Regions from separate parts of the Homo sapiens genome. Here region 2 is linked to region 1. Evidence: promoter capture Hi-C in human tissues and cell types (Jung and others, 2019). All regions are on one chromosome and are shown on one strand. Each heading gives the region's core, a stretch centred on a gene start or on the middle of the fragment in contact. The rest is flanking DNA. Distances are from core to core; before and after follow the strand shown. Region 1 holds the start of MFNG (MFNG O-fucosylpeptide 3-beta-N-acetylglucosaminyltransferase). Region 2 overlaps TRIOBP (TRIO and F-actin binding protein).

What was found. The method cuts DNA at HindIII sites, captures the fragments that hold promoters and counts their contacts. A contact is called where the count stands out against the background at its distance.
Region 2: a contact is called between a fragment that was not itself captured here and the fragment with the promoter of MFNG in region 1, in 1 of the 25 tissues and cell types used here (spleen).

Annotation. Positions count from the first base shown.
Region 1 is chr22:37,485,096-37,487,730 of GRCh38, forward strand. MFNG (MFNG O-fucosylpeptide 3-beta-N-acetylglucosaminyltransferase) reads right to left here and starts at 1,289. Exons shown (of 8, transcript NM_002405.4): 1 at 828-1,289. The coding sequence starts at 1,082. RefSeq lists enhancers at 174-233, 634-683, 1,160-1,669, 1,670-2,181, 2,182-2,635 and a silencer at 1,254-1,383. The HindIII fragment of the contact is 15,221 bases long and covers 1-2,635 here.
Region 2 is chr22:37,731,256-37,733,890 of GRCh38, forward strand. It overlaps TRIOBP (TRIO and F-actin binding protein), which reads left to right. Exons shown (of 24, transcript NM_001039141.3): 8 at 2,043-2,157. Among named protein-coding and RNA genes, the nearest start is that of TRIOBP, 36 kb to the left of the region's middle. The HindIII fragment of the contact is 6,403 bases long and covers 1-2,635 here.

The DNA.
Region 1 (2,635 bases), core at 39-2,538:
GGACTTGGCTCGCCGGAGCCGCACAGCCATGTGACAGACATGCCTCTTGTCACACACATCTAGCACACTCCAGCTCCGTGCGTGTGAGCACACACACACACACACACACAATCCCACGTGCCAGGCAGGCCTCCCCAACCTCCGGCCCACCACTGCCTCAGCCGCCACCCTCGTGGCATGCGCTCTCCTTCCCTCCCTCGGAAGCAGTCCGCAGGAAGCCAACACAGGAGGCCAGACATGGCGGCCTCGGCACACCCGGGGCAGCAGAGACACAGCGGCAGGGGCTATCGGGAAGGCCGAAGGGATGCCTCCCCCAAGAACAGACCCCACCATTCTCCTCCCGTCCTCCACCCTCAGAGCCCGGGCAGGACAGCACCTAGGGCCTGGGTGGGACAGCCTGGCCTGGGCACGGGTCTGGGTCAGGACCTCTTGGAGGCCTCCACCCCAGCTGCCCAACACCCACCATTACCCCTGATGCCAGGCTGGGCCTGGGTGGCTAGGAGCGAAGCCCCCACGGGAGCGGCTAGGAATAGAAGAACCCCCAGGAGGGACCCGGGAGCCTGGAGCAGGGGCCCAGCCTGGCCCCCAAAAGTGGTGGAGCGGTAGGACCTGGGTGCACCTGGAGTCAGGACCAGTACAGGGCACGGGCAGGGCCGCAGGCAGCCCCTAAAGCCCGGAAGAAGGAGAGAGGAAGAGGATCCCTGATTAGGCAGGTATTGAGCAGCTTCTCCCATGAGGCAGTCAGGGACCCCAGCCCAGTAGAAAGGCCTCTGAGAACCCCTTAGGCCAGGGGCCACCCCCAGGGCCCAATGTCACCCACTTGTCACCTGTTCCCTGGTCCTGGAAACCCACGTGTCAAGCAGCAGCTCCAGGCGCAAGCGGTGGAAAGCCCGGGTCGTCTTCACTGCAATGAAGACATCGTGTAGCTGTAGCTTAGGGGGCCCCGGGTTCGGCTGGCTCAGCTCGGGGGTCCCTTGTACCCGCTGCGGGGACAGGTTCAAGTGGTACCGCAGACACAGGAGCCCCATGCACAGGAGGGTGAGGAGGGCTCCAGCCAGGCCCCGCGGGAGCCGGCACTGCATTGGTTGGCCCTGGGACCCCAGACAGCTCAGCCCCCAAATCCCAACCAGACAGGGAGGGGAAGCTGGTCAGGCAGGGGCTCCAGCAGAGGCAAAAGTCTGGCAGGCATCAGGGGCTGGCAAGGAGGGAAGAGGTAGGAGCTGAGGCTCTGGACCCAGAGGCTGAGCCATGGCAGCACGATCTCGACCGCCGCCAGTCCTCCACCTGCTCCCGCTGTCCGGCCTGCCGCAGCCTCCGGGACCGCCTGGCCCCGCCCCGCTTAGCCCGAGGGGCGGGGCCAGACGAAGGGAACCCCAGACAGAGGCGGCTGAAAGGAGGCACCAGCAGAAAGGGCAGCCCCGGCTCTGCCAGCTGCTGCGGTGGGAGGAAGTCACAACAAACCCTCCGTGCCCGGTGGAAGGGAGTGTCCTCCAGCACCGTCCACTCCCCCAGAGAGCTGTCAGCTCGGCCCATTCAACACCCATTACTTTGGTGTCCTGCTTCACCCAGCCCCCAGCTTTTGCTCACAGGTTTCCTCCGGGATGCTCTCCCATATTCCACCAGCCTCACCCACATTCCCTCCACTAGGCTGAGTTCTATCTGGACTTCAAAGCTTAAGGGTTCCCTCCTCCAGGAAGCCTTCCGTGATAACCTCTTAACCTCTGGGGCTCCCACAGTTGTTCGCTCAGTTCCTGAGGTCTTCACAACAGCACTGGGACTGTCGTTCCCAGTTTATAGCTGAAGACATAAGGCACAAAGGCACAGAATGAGCAAAAACGATCCAGCAACTCAGCCGCAGAGCTGGCAGAACCCAGGTCTCTGTTCCTCATCTAGTTCACAGGAGGTCCCCTGAGGGCACCTGTCCAGCTGTGCCCCAGCCCATACCCGACCTCACTCCGCAGTCTCTGGAGCTGCCTCTCTCCCAGCACCTGACCAGTGGACAGACAGAGGGCCTTCTCCAGCCACCACCTCCATCTTGTTTCGCACAAGCTCACTCACACCTCCTCCCTCCTCCACTCAGAGCCTGCACTGGCTCCCATTTTCTTCAGAACAAAAGCCAAAACGCACACAGCAGCCCACAAGGCCCTGCGTGAGCTGGCTCCCAAGTTACTCCCACCCCATCTCCTGCTACTCACCCTGCTCCACTCCAGAACCTGGGACCCTCGCTGGCCCAGGCACCTGGCCGCCACAGGACCTTGGCACTTGCTGTTCCCACCTGGGCCCCTCCCTAGAGACCTGCACGTCTCACTCCCCCACTCCCTTCTGGTCTTTACACAAAGGTCACCGTCTCTGTGAGGCCTTCCCTGACCACGTTATTAACATTGCAACCCCTCGCCGCCTCCTTCCCAGCCCCCCAGGCCTGTCCCTCTCAAGCCACTTCACTGTTTTCTTCATCACACTTTTCATCTTCCAACATTCTGTATGTTTAACTAAGTTTCTGTCCTCCTCATGAGAATATCAGGGCAGGATTTATTTTTTGATCACTGAGTCCCTAATCCCCAGTGCCTAGAACAGTGACCGGCAGACAAGAACTCAATCAATGTTAATTCAACACAACAAAGTACCAGGTGGCTGG
Region 2 (2,635 bases), core at 43-2,542, 250 kb after region 1:
GCTTCCCAAGTAGCTGGGACTACAGCCACGTACCACCATGCTCGGCTCATTAAAAAAATTTTTTTTTCCTAGAACAAGGTCTCATTCTGTTGCCAGGGCTGTCTCAAACTCCTCGACTCAAGTGATCCTCTGACCTCAGCCTCCCCAAGTGCTGGAATTACAGGTGTAAAGACACTGTACCTGGCCTCCCAACCCCATATATATATATATATATTTTTTGAGACAGGGTCTCACTATGTCACCCAGGCTGGAGTGCAGTGGCGCGATCTCAGCTCACTGCAACCTCCACCTCCTGGGGTCAAGCGATCCTCCTGCCTCAGCCTCCTGAGTAGCTGGGATTACAGGCACGTGCCACCACGCCTGGCTAAGTTTTGTATTTTTAGTAGAGATTGGGTTTCACTATGTTGACCAGGCTGGTCTCGAACTCCTGACCTCAAGTGATCCACCCACCTCAGCCTCCCAAAGTGCTGTGATTAGAGGCATGAGCCACCACACCTGGGCTAATTTTTGTATTTTTAGAGACTAGGTTTCACTATGTTGTCTAGGCTGGTCTTGAACTCCTGAGCTCAAGCCATCCGCCTGCCTCAGCCTCCCAAAGTTCTGGGATTACAGGCGTGACCCATTGCGCCCTGCCCAATCCCATACTTTTGAAGGTGTCGTTCCAGCATGGCTCCTCAGGCACAGGCCCACCACAGACAGCAGGGCCTATGGAGGCCTGAGCAGAGTTTCCTCATACTTCCCTTTTTGCTGCCTCACTCTGGGTCCACCACAGGGTGGCCTTTTTCAGGCTTCTCTTCCTGGTTCAGTTCATCGACCAAAGACATGGCTCCATTTGCTAACTGAGACCCAACCAAAATAAACATTCATGGAGTGGTTGGGCCTTTTGTTGTGACCCCTTAGGTAGAGGAAGGGAGAGATATGCCCAGGTTCTGTTTGGTGTTTCTACCTGTCAATAGAGATACCACGTTAATCATTAACAGCCATGCCTCCCAGTTAGTAAGCAAGACAACTAACTGGAACTAGACTTTTTACACAAGTTAGAGATGATCTTCATCGGATGCGTCAACAATGCCTGAAGCCCAGTGTCTTAGAAACAACACTTGCCCAGGGTCAGGCGTGGTGGCTCATGCCTGTAATCCCAGCTACTTGGGAGATTAAGGCAGAGAATCACTTGAACCCGGGAGATGGAAGTTGCAGTGAGCCGAGATCGCGCCACTGCACTCCAGCCTGGGTGACAGAGCGAGACTCCATCTCAAAAAAAAAAAAAAAAAAAAGACACTTGCTTGGACAGTTTATGTTGGCCTCTCTGAAGTTGTCAGGGAGAATGTTTCTTTCTTCTGATCTTGCTCAGAGCTCTTTTGCCAACAGCTAGGATGGCCTGGAGTTTTCAAGGCTAAGCGCTGGGATTCTGTTGGTTAACAGTGATGGGAGGGAAAAAGGAAAAGAAATCCAAAATTTACAATATGGACAGGAAAAGGCAGAAAGAATGGAACACGGGGGCACACAGCAGTCTGGCTCTGTCGTCCCACCTCGTGGGCTGCGATCATGATACAAGTGCTTGGCCCCTGGAACATAAGAAGCACTCAATAAATGCTTTGTCATAATGATTATGTGTGCCCAGTGCCTGGTACACAGTAGGTGCTCAATAAATCTTAATTCCCGCAAAGACCAGTCTAACCTTTGTCTGGGGGTGGCTCTTGGGCTGCTGGTGGGGTGGTGGTTAGTCATAGGAAGTACTGGATGAGACAGGAGAGGGCCATGGCCAGGGCCAGATCCCCCTCCCCACCCAACCGCCTCTACTCCCCACTTTTCTCGTCATGTTCGCAAGAGCCTCATGAGGCAGAATAGAGCAGTGTTAACCATCCCCATTTTTCAGAAGGGGAAACTAAGGCCCTGAGAGTCATCCTCACTTAGGGCCCTTCAACGAGCTTGCAGTGGGTCCCTGGCTGTCCCACATCTCCTCCTGTTGGAGGTGGGAGCAGAGGGGCTGGGGTGCTGGGAGTGGGACAGTCCCTCAGAGGAGTGGCTGCATTTGCTCATAGGAAGTCCGAGGCAGCGGGGGCCTTCCAGGCCCAGGACGAGGGACGGTCACAGCAGCCCAGCCAAGGCCAGAGCCAACTTCTCCGAAGACAGTCCAGCCCTGCCCCCAGCAGGCAGGTGAGCACTGCCAGCTGTCTGGGGCCCCGCACCCCAAGGGGCGGCCACTGCCTCTTCCCTCCCGCTAGAAGCCAGGCAGGGGGCTTGGACAGGAAGGTCCTCTATGAAAGGGTCGGAGTCCAATCATGGGGATCCAGCTCTCCCCTCTCCCCAACGGCCAGCAGCTCTTGGCAAAATGCACAAGACCCCACATTAATCCTTTGAAGATAGCCCCTCTCCCACGCTATCCCCTTCCTTTACTAAGCACTGCTGTCTTTTTTTTTTTTTTTTTTTTTTGAGATGGAGTCTTGCACTGTCTCCCAGGCTGGAGTGCAGTGGGACAATATTGGCTCACTGCAACCTCTGCCTCCCAGGTTCAAGTGATTCTTCTACCTCAGCCTCCCAAATAGCTGGGATTACAGGCGTGTGCCACCACACCCAACTAATTTTCGTACTTTTAGTAGAGACAGGGTTTCACCATGTTGGCCAGGCTGGTCAC